Linked DNA regions of Homo sapiens: regions 1 and 3 are each linked to region 2. Evidence: promoter capture Hi-C in 16 types of primary human blood cells and fetal thymus (Javierre and others, 2016). All regions are on one chromosome and are shown on one strand. Each heading gives the region's core, a stretch centred on a gene start or on the middle of the fragment in contact. The rest is flanking DNA. Distances are from core to core; before and after follow the strand shown.

What was found. Contacts are between HindIII fragments. The CHiCAGO score rates a contact against its expected background, and 5 or more counts as called.
Region 1: a contact is called between the fragment with the promoter of MBNL2 here and the fragment with the promoter of TMTC4 in region 2, in 1 of 17 cell types (activated CD4 T cells). The highest score is 6.4, in activated CD4 T cells.
Region 3: the fragment with the promoter of DNAJC3 here is called in contact with the fragment with the promoter of TMTC4 in region 2 in 1 of 17 cell types (total B cells); the score reaches 5.2 in total B cells.

Annotation. Positions count from the first base shown.
Region 1 is chr13:97,221,083-97,224,468 of GRCh38, forward strand. MBNL2 (muscleblind like splicing regulator 2) reads left to right here and starts at 1,251. Exons shown (of 9, transcript NM_001382683.1): 1 at 1,251-1,449. RefSeq lists an enhancer at 1,273-1,332. The HindIII fragment of the contact is 4,024 bases long and covers 1-1,624 here.
Region 2 is chr13:100,672,766-100,676,310 of GRCh38, forward strand. It overlaps TMTC4 (transmembrane O-mannosyltransferase targeting cadherins 4), which reads right to left and starts at 2,030. Exons shown (of 19, transcript NM_032813.5): 1 at 1,979-2,030. RefSeq lists enhancers at 406-1,295, 2,621-2,700 and silencers at 1,411-1,490, 1,541-1,900, 1,931-2,430. The HindIII fragment of the contact is 7,703 bases long and covers 1-3,545 here.
Region 3 is chr13:95,675,226-95,678,596 of GRCh38, forward strand. It overlaps DNAJC3 (DnaJ heat shock protein family (Hsp40) member C3), which reads left to right and starts at 1,914. Exons shown (of 12, transcript NM_006260.5): 1 at 1,914-2,112. The coding sequence starts at 2,031. It overlaps DNAJC3-DT (DNAJC3 divergent transcript), which reads right to left and starts at 1,700. Exons shown (of 2, transcript NR_132117.1): 1 at 627-1,700. RefSeq lists enhancers at 1,004-1,851, 1,115-1,214, 1,852-2,698, 2,045-2,094 and silencers at 1,735-1,974, 2,205-2,294. The HindIII fragment of the contact is 3,320 bases long and covers 62-3,371 here.

The DNA.
Region 1 (3,386 bases), core at 1-2,500, 3.5 Mb before region 2:
TTATGTTTTTAAGATGCAATGGCAAAATAAAAAGAAAGCATTCCATTGCATTCTGTTGCTTCATTACAGATGCGCTGAACAGTTGCTTATAAAAATCGTGCATTGGGTTCAACCTTTCAGATGAATAAAGGCTTTGTTCTGTCTTGGTCTCATCATGTAATCATCATACTTTTTTTTTCTCAAAATGTGGTATTTAGGGGAGGAAAATGTATGCTTGTTGTGTTTGCTCAATGCCATATGTTTTTGAGTTTTTGTTTTCAAGGCATACAGAAATGCTGTAGACTGGGAAATAAATAAATAAATAAATAAATAAATAACCCTTCCTAAACTTTCTCTTCTTCTGCTTTATCTCAGGAAACTCCAGCACCTCCTAGAACATCTTTTGTGGAATGGCACCTCATGGGGGCCCTTGGATCATGTACCCCTTGTATTCAACAGTAAACATCTTCCTATAATCATTGCTTCATTAACGATAATGTGAGCCAATGCACAGTATTTATCAAATGGCATCTAAGATGGTTAAAGCACACCTAATCCTCTCGTGGGTGCCTGCCAAGAGTAGAAAAGGGTAGTGTATAGATATCAATTTTATTGTCCAGCATTCCCTAATCGAAGTCCCAAGTGGTCTGAAAACTTAGACGAAAGATAAATGGGCCGCAGTAATTAACCACTGCAATAACAGATGTTATACAGGAAACCTGTGTGTGCCAGAGCTATAAGCATGTTTTGATTTTGAATACGCACTTGGGCTAGCACATTCTTCCTCAATAATGGAAATATGTAAATGTTTTGTAAGGTATTAACTGCCATGGCAGACGTTGAATTATTTTTCCTTTAAAAAACATATACATATGCTTTGTCAGATAGTCCAAGGACTTCAGTTTCATGTACAACCTGGATTTCTTTGGAATCTGCGGAGTTTCACATTTTCCCAAGTGTTCACGGTGAAGCTCCTGGCTTCGAGCTGGCTGTCTTCAAGGGTGTTTTCTTGAGCTACCCCTCTCTCTGCTCTGCCAATTATGTGCCACTTTGTCTTGGTGCTATGATTGCTTTCTTCTGAGAGGGAAATTCCTCTTTCATCAGTATGGATGCACTGTTTTTACACACTGCAAGTGCTGTGTTACTGTGTCAGTCATCCTATTAGGGCCAGTTTCAGACGAGTAGGGCTGACGAGCTGGCTGGGGATTGGCTGGCCCCGGCTGGGAGGGATTTGTCGGAAGGAAGGGCTGCAGCTTACAGCAACAGAGTTTAGACTGTCTTTGCTTCATCATCTGAAGGTAAAATTTTCCAGATACGGCAGACGGCTTTCAGAGTACAATAAACAGGGAATGAGAACTATTTACATGGAAGTTTCTTTCTCATGATGCGGTGGAGAAGCCTCGGCCACTTGGTTCTGCCAGATGTTCCTGGGGTTACTGTAAATGGGAAGGACAGGCAGAGCTAAACAAGGTAGGAGAATCGCCCCCCTTTTTTGAATGTTTAAAGAGTTTGCTGCAGTATGCTGCATTCCATGTGTGCTGCTTACGGGAGCCAGGGAAACTGGATTCCACTAATTCAATTGTAATACTTGCGGGGGACCCTGGAGTTTTACGTAACATTTTGATTTGAGAAAAAGAAATGGCAAAGCTTGAATCTATGCCGCCTGTTTGGGGTGAGGCAAGAAATCGAGTTTTTATGCAAAGAATCGATTCATTTATTATATTATTTTTTAAAAACCATTTGAATTCTTTGGAGCAATCTTATTTTCTTGCTGTGAAAAATTGTTATATTGCCATAGCTAGTTCCCAAATAGATAAAGTTTACATGGATCCTATTATTTGAAAACAGACTTGCAATTAAGGATTAAAAAAAAATTCATGGTAAATAATCATCGGTTGAATGTTTGGCCAAACGTATGTGTCTATTTATTAAAAATTAGGGACCTACCTAGCTCTACAATGCTACAGCTTTAATTGAGTTTCAAAAGCACATTTTAAACAACCTAGCAAGAGGTAGCTTTCTGGCAAGTTTTCGATACTGTAGTTCAATGTTTACATTTCTTTTCCTGGCATGTCTGAGCCTTTGTTTCCAGCTTAAAAGTGGAACCATTATATTCAAAAGTAAAGCTGGGTTAATAATGCTTACTGCAATTATCTGATCTTTATGCATTTTTAATGAGAACACACAGCCAGCAGAATAATTTAATGAGGGCAGGCTAGCTTTTAAAGCTGTGTTTTCACTATGCCGAACCATATCAACTTTCTCGCTGAGAAGCAGCAGTGAGAAATGATGGAGAAGATTTATTTTTAACACACTTGGCCCAGGAGAAGGAAAGGATATATTTGCTAAAGAATTCTTTCTGCCCTTTTCCGTTTTAAATTTCTGCCAGGCATGAGGAAACTGTGCTTTTTTGTTAGGCCTCGGAAGCATGTGTTTACAATAAATGTGTAACATTTTTAGAATAGTTAGCAAGCACTGAAGCGAAGAAAAAAATCTGACTTGCCTAACCACCACCACCTTGAATGTTCTACAAGAAACATTACTGTCCCTTTAAAAGACAAAGGTTAAGTGGAAAGCTATTTGTTAATTGGGTAATGTGTGTGTTTTGGGGACAATAAGGTTTTTAAAAAAGGCAGGGGGAACATTCTTATAATCTTTAAATAAGAGGAAGTTTCTTCAGCTATCCTACTTGTTTTGCAAGGAGCAGTAGAACTACTCATTTAAATAAGGGCAATGCCACGTAGATTCTTCTAGACCCACTGTTTTTACTTTCAAGGAGAAGTGCAGGACACTAGCCCAGAACTTCTGACGTCATCCCCCAACTATTTCTGCTGTGTGTTCCTTTATTCGAGCTTGTGGAGAGGAATATTTCTTTATGTCCTGGCCAGGAACATTCTAACTCCCCACTGGCAGGACTTAAGTTATGTCTTTATATTTTCGCCTGTCTTTTGTAAATTGTAAACCTGTCCCCTCATAAATAGGGCATCTTCTTGTACCTGCCACATGTCGGGCCGGTCAGCACAGGTTTTCTGCAGGGCTTCTGGCTGGGCTGGCAAAAAGCAGCAGGGAGCAGGGCAAAGCTTTTTTTCTGGCCTGACTCCCCCTTGGTGCAGCCCAGCGCTGCCACCTGGGTGGATGGTCCCCGGGGCCCTATTCCCAGTTGCTCCAGAGCCACTATTTAGGATCCAGGTTGTGCCACCAAGTTCAAGGCTGGTTGTGATGGTGAGAACAGCTGCTTTCATAGAAAAATCATCATGTCCTAGCACAGATGGCCCCAAGCAGGGGAAGTACAATACTGCAGGCTGCAAATCCATGTCACAGGTGGCAACCTTGGTCACAGAGATCGGGGGAAGGGTAATGTTTACAAAGGAACCTTTTAAAAAAGATTTTGACTGGAGCACATTGGA
Region 2 (3,545 bases), core at 780-3,279:
ACAGGTGTGAACCACCGTGCCCGGCCTCCACCATTTTTTACAGTCAGGACATGAAATAGGAAAGGATGCTCTGTTTTCTTCCAGATGGGCCCTAGGTTGAACTTTCTGGTCCCTCTTCTCCACATGATGTCCTGCCTGGGCTCCCTGGCTCCTCTGCCATAGCTGGATCGTTAGTTCACCTTATGAAGCAACAAAAAGAGAGACCCACTGTGGCCTCTGCTACAGGCCAAGCAGAGGGCACAACCCAGGAGGAATGAAGTCAGTGTTCTGCTCGCTACCTGACTCCTGCGACAGAATCAACTGGCCCCTCAACAGGGGCTGAATCTGGAACAAAGCAGACGTCCCTTTATCCTACAATTTCTCAAACTTCTCATATCGAGCCTCTGTTTTCAGGAGGTTAAAACAAATTAATCATCAGTGAGAAGGCCAAAAAGACCCCACACAGGGACCCCAGAAAAACAAATGTCATCCAGCTGTGAACCATGAGGGCCCAATGACAGCTGACACGGCAGCCTGGACTGCGGTAAACAGAATGGCGAGACCAAACCTAAATGTTTCCCCTTGGAAAAATTAGCAGCAGCCACCTACAGAAGAATATTCCCCTCCATGCATCCAGGGGCCTGCTGACCTCTGCCCAGCCTTTCTACCTCATCTGTAACATTCAATCACATAGCCAGCCATCCTATGCACGCTGAGAGGTGACAGCGCCTCTGGGAATCAGATTAGAGAACACAATCGTTTGTGACCCTGCATCCCTGGGCCTGGCAGTTTCCTGACTGATCAGACCCTGGGCCCCTCAAGGCAGGGGCGCGAGCCACCACCACCGCCCTCCTCCGTGCAGTGCTGAATACATGCTACTGAAGGCTAAGGTATCGTCCTGCTGTGACGGCCTTCCCATTTTATAATTCAGTAGCGCACGAGGGCCATGGCTGCCTATAGCAAGAATGTGTGTGGTTTGATATTCACAGTTCCACTGTCCCAGAAAGTTTCCAGTTTGCTAGCTTGTAGCCATTTCCCCTATCTAGGTGCACTGGCCGTGATTTTACCCCACTCCATCTGGGGCGCGCCCGGCGCAGACAGGACTGCAGAGAAAAGGGACAGGGAGGGGACCTAGTCAGTCCCTACTATAACTGTTTCTCAAGACATTCTCCCCATGCATTTATTTGCTCTCCCGGGGAAAGAGCGAAGTGTGGGATGACTCATAGTGGCTAGATCGTTCCTCTAACTCCTCCCTTCTTTTGTGTGTGGTTTAAAAAAAAGAAAAACACACACGCAGCCCATAGCCACAACATCAACAAGACCAGAAGCCCCGCAGAGTTCGCAGGAGGTGGGCAGTGGCTGCGCCACCTGCTCGGCTTCCCCAAACTCCGAGCCCACGCCGGGAAGCGGCGGCTCGGTGGCCCCGGGCGCCCGGGCCGGTGGCCCCGCGCTCGCGCCGCTCCGCTCCGCAGCCGAGCGTGGAGTAGCAGGCGCTCGCGGCGCGGCGGGGGAGCCGCCGCGGAACCCAGGGCAGGCGGCCAAGCGGCCCGGCTGTGTCCAGCCATCGCCTGCGCCGCGGCCAGCTGGCGGCCAGGCGCGGGGCCCCGCGGCCAGATGGCCGCTCCGGGGACGCGCCGCAGGCGCCGGGTGCGCCCGGGCCGAGGGAGCGCCGGCGCGGCTGTGCAGGCAGGGGCTGGGGGCGGCGACCTCTGCCCGGGCGGAGAAGCTCAGGGGCCCGAGCGCGGCGGGCGGGGCGCGCAGCCTCCACGCCGCGCCCTTTGTCCCATGTGCGGCTCACACAGGGGCCCGCGTCCCCCGTGACCCCGGCCCGGGCCGCAGCTCAGGTCCCGGAACCAACTCCTCCAGCAGCGCCGCTCTGGCCCGGGCCGCCGTGCGGGGCTCGGGACACGGCGGCAGCGGGGAACCCGCGCCCGCTCCGCGTCCAACTCCGCTCGCCCCGCGGCGCGCTCGGCCCTGCAGGGGCCGCCCCGCGCGTTACCTGCAAGGAGCCTGAGCCCCGGCCGCATCTCCCTCCCGGGTGCGGAAACTCTGGCGGCTCCAGGCACCCGCCCGGACCTGGCAGGGGGAGGGGCCGCCCGCCGCGCACCCGACCCCCCCCGCGCCGCGCCTCCCGCAGCTCCCCACGCGCGCGGGCGCCCCCCAGCACCAGTCTCGGCCCGCCCCCTCCGCCCGACCATTGGCTGCTGCTCCCGTCACTTTCAGGCCACAGCCAAGTCCCTCCTCAGCTCATTGGCGGACGCGCCGGTGACGTCAGGCCAGGGGGCGCTAGTCGGCGGCGAAGGAGGCGCAGGGACAGACGGACCCGGCGGGAGAGGAGGAAGCCGGGTTGTGGGCGCGGAGCTGAGGCGGAGGCGGGGCCGGGGCGGGAAGGGGCGGCCCCAGCTGGGTCGGGCGAGGCTGGCTGCGGGAAACCGAGTGAGCCCTCGCTTTTCCTCCGGGGTCCGCGCGCGGGACCCTATTTCTGGCCTGTCTCGCGCTTCGCCTGCGCGGTGGTCTCCACGCTGGGACTGCGGCGTCCTCGCAGAACAGCCAGAACTCCACTTCTTCCTGTCCGGGAGGAGTTGTTTAAAACATGCGTATCTCCACCTTCTGCTTCTTAGAACAGAACTGACTGAAGCCGTGTTCTTCCCGCCGAGACCATGCCGCCCCATCGACCCTGCTGCGGCCAGAGCCACCCAGGGCGGGCCCACTCACCGCAGGCTCGGGCCACTTGGTTCCAAACCTCCACTCCCATCCAGGGGCCCGGCACACCCACCACACTCCCACTCTCAGAGGTCTTTGCCGCCTGCTTCAGGAGAAAAGAGAAACTTCCACTTTCCACCGGCAAAACTGCACACCTGCTCCCTCCATCACCGAGCCCCCCCCCCCACCTTCTGTTTTTCCAGTATCGCAGAATCCGATCCGTTGCTCCCTCTGGACTGGAATCCGTATCCTCGGCATTTCATCATTCCAAGATTCTCTACTCCACGTACCCTTGCTGCCACCCTCTTCTACTTTCCATCGCTGAAGTTGGTGAAAGAGGCGCCTGCCCCCAGTTTTGTGGTCTCTCAACTCCACGTGTTCGTTTTCACACTCGGTGAAATTGCCTTTTTAATTGTCGCAAGTAGCATCCACATCACTAAAGTCAAAGGACACTCTCCTTTCTCGTGTTAACTGATCTGAGCAAAATTCCTTCTTTCTCCTTAAAACACGTCTTCCTGTGGCGGGGGTGCTCCACTTTCCTGTCTGTCCCCAGTCTTGGCGTGCTTGTCTACTCTGGGTGACCACCAAATAACAGAGTTTTCAAGGTCTCAGACCTTTCCTCTTACTCCACAATTTTTCCCTGAATGATTTAACCTGCTGTCAACATTTAAATCAATATATCCCAAATTTGCAACTCTAATCTTTGCTCCTCTGAGCTCCAAATCCGTTTATCTAGCTTCCTATTCAGCTACTCCTGGTAACAAGCACCTCAAATGGAACCCATCCAAAACTGAATGCGTCCTTTCCCTGCTTGCTTTCAACTCCCTGTCTCCCTGTGATAGTGAAGACACCACTATCCAGTG
Region 3 (3,371 bases), core at 664-3,163, 5.0 Mb before region 2:
TTTTTTCTGTCTAATGTTACCTTTGTTGTAAAATTATCTTTTTTTAAGGAATGCTTTGTAAAGCTTAGTTCTAATATTACAGAATTCATAGTTATGTAATTAATCTCAAAATCACTCACCATTGAAGACCCTTGCTATTTTTATTTCCTATAACACGAAGTCTATTATCTCCTTAATAATTTTTAATTTCCATCCTTAGAACTTCTTCAGCTCTGCTACTTTTTCCTTAAGGCCAGGGTCATAGGCAGCACACTGGTGATAACTCACTGTCTAGAAATATTGCATTTTGTTTACAAAGTTATTTTCTATGTTCAGCATTTTGCTGGCTGCCTTGGGTACAGTACCTCAATTGAATGTCTACACCTGCATATTTGTGGACATTGAAATCATCTACCATTTTTCAGAGACACTACCTTGTGATATAAAAAAACAGAAGCCAAAAAAAAAAAAATCCCAAGGAATTTCTGAAGGAGCCTCTCTTCACTACTCTGCTCTTGTTAGAATAATGAGTAACACTGGTATAACATTCTACAATTTACAAGAATATTTATCTGCTTCATGAAACCTCAAAACAAACCTTTGAGACTATCAGGATCCTAACCACTTTACAGATGAAGATAACTTACATAATAGTTATGGGGTTTCCTGGATCTGACTCCTTTATTCTTCACATTACATTATGTTGCCTTCCCCACAACTAATCAAGGACTCCGTTTTTTCTTTTTTCTTTCTCGAAACCATTTCCTCCATATTAGTTCCCTTTGGAATAGAAGCCTTTTTAAAAGTCCACCTTAGTATATCTTCAGGGAATCACAAATTCACTATGCTATTTATAATTCATGAGTTTCTCTAATGGTATCAAGGCAGCAAATACAGGTGAAGTAATAATTATCCACCTGATAGTACTTAACACACATACCCCGTGTAAAAATACTGCTGGTGTACAGTGTGTGTGTTGGTGACGCCGGAGGAAGTGGCCGTGAACAGGCTTAATGCCGCATTGAGTAACTTCAACCTCATCTTGCTCAGGTTCATATCTCTCCTGAATTTCCCCTGGTAAGCGCAAGATTCAGGATCCGTTCTCACAGTTTTTTGTTTACCAGTTGATGTTGGCTGCATTCAGGAACGCCTTGCTCTCTTAAGCCACAGTGCCTTCCTGGTCTCTTCTTCACAGGGTCTTCCACAATCGCTCTTTTTCCTGGGCACGGTGGTTTGCTGAAAGTCGGGGTGGGGGGCGGGGCGTTCCCAAGTTTCCAGGCCAATTACCTACCTGCCTTAGAGCAATTACGCACTTCTCTCTGGTAGTCCCTGAAATGTTCTAATCATCAGATCGCCCCAGCTTCTCCTGACCGTTTCTTGCTTACGGCTCAGTTCAGACAGTATTTGTTCCGGGACGCTCAGCGGGAGGCGGTTTTTACCGGCTCACTCGAGACCCCAATTCCAGGCGCCCTGCAGCTTCCCTCAGACTCCCCGGGACCGTGTTTGGCCTTCCCATTCGTACGCTGCGGCTGCGCTTTCCTCTCGTAACACCACGCTGGCGAACCTGGAAAGGATCAAATAGTCCCACTCGCCAACCTAGCGCGGCGGGACCGGCCCAAAAGGGCCTTTGCAGCCTGCGCATGCGGACTCGGCGGCCGCCACCGACTCCCCGTCTGCTTCCCTCCGGGCGGCAGCCGCGGTTTGGAGCTTGCTGACAGCTCTGCGACCGGCGGGCGCAGCCTCGTCTCGTGCTTCCACGTTATCCTATCAGGGACGGGGCGGGGCGGCGGCCTCCGCAGCCTATCAGCGCGAACCACGACCCCGGCGAGCCCGGGAGGAAAGCCGCCAGAAAGAAGGCGATTGGATGGCGGCGGCGCTCTGGGGCGTAGCGTCGCCCGGGCCCCGCCCACCGCTGCCTTCCTCTGCTGGGCTCCAGAGCCACTGAGGCCTGAGCGAGAGCCGACGGCGGGCGGGCGCAGCTGCTGCCGGAGCGCCGGCGCGTGCTGGTGGGCCACACACCTTTCCTCCTCTTCACTCGCGAGCCCTCGGACATGGTGGCCCCCGGCTCCGTGACCAGCCGGCTGGGCTCGGTATTCCCCTTCCTGCTAGTCCTGGTGGATCTGCAGTACGAAGGTGAGTCCTGCCCTGCCCCGGCCAGGAAGTGGGCTCCCGGACCAGGCCCCCCGCGCTTTCCCGTCTGCGCCCGGGCGCCTGTCCCGGAGCGGCTCGGGAGGTGGGGCGAGCGCTGGGGGAGCCCGCGGCCTGGCTTGGGCCTGAGCCCGCGCCCGGTTCCGGGTTTGTCTGGGGAAGAATCGAGGGGACTGGCGGGCCGCGGGGCCGGGACAGCGGGTTTGGACTAAGGAACCGGGCCGCAGGAGTCGGAGGAGGCGGGGTGCGGGGGCACCGGGCTACGACTTCAGGAAGTCCTGGGACGCGGAGACTTGGGCAGCCTTTGGGTCCTGGCCTCGCTTGGGACCCTCGCTGGGCGCCTGGGGACACTGTCAGTCATTGGTGCTGGCTGGGAGGAGGCACTAAGGTGGCCAAAAGACTTCCTTCGCTCTGGAGTTCTTGGGTGGGGAAGGAGTGTCATGTCCGGCTGGGAGTTGGAGGGGACAGTGTTGACTATTTAAAAAGTGTGTAACCATCCCCATTAAGATGCACTGTCGTGTAGAGAAATTGTTAGTTTGGTGCAATGAGGAGCCGCTGTTGGAATTCCATCTCCCGGACGGCCAGGCACTGAGTTTGTGGTTTTACAACTCCCAACATGGTGTCATTCAACGTATGGCTGGCATTACTTTTCCAAGTTCGCTGTAAAAAGGTTCCCTTAAAAAGATACGAACGATTAAATTTCACTTCAGTCCTGCAGACTGGAATGTTGGCTACTCCAGAATAGCGAAAATAGAGGGCTGTCCTATCTTAGATGGCAGCGGGGAGGAGTAAGAATTAAAGTTGATAGTGCCGATTTAACGAATGCTTCTGGCGCGGTTACTGTGCGAAATATTCGAGTGTAATGACACATCACATGCACTGATCTATTTTCATCCCCATAAAAAGGGCTAGTTGTCAAGGAGGTCAAATTAAACCTTTGAGTATTCCATTCAAAGGGAGCGAGGAACTAAAAATTGGGAATTGTTTATAGTGAATTCTTCTGAAAGTTCTCAACTTTTTTTTTTAAAGTAGTACTCCCCAGTTTTTAGGTGTCACCCATAGCAATGGGCTTTTGCTTTTGCTTCCCCTGGTAACCATATTTTTTGAACCCCAAATCAGAACACGTAGTGTGGCAACATTGGGACAAAGAATTTGACAGTGAGGCTGCCCCCAGAAAAATCTAGGGGATTGGAATTTGAAGGTCTGTACCACTTTAATATGGGTCATATATTCTAGTTCTTTTG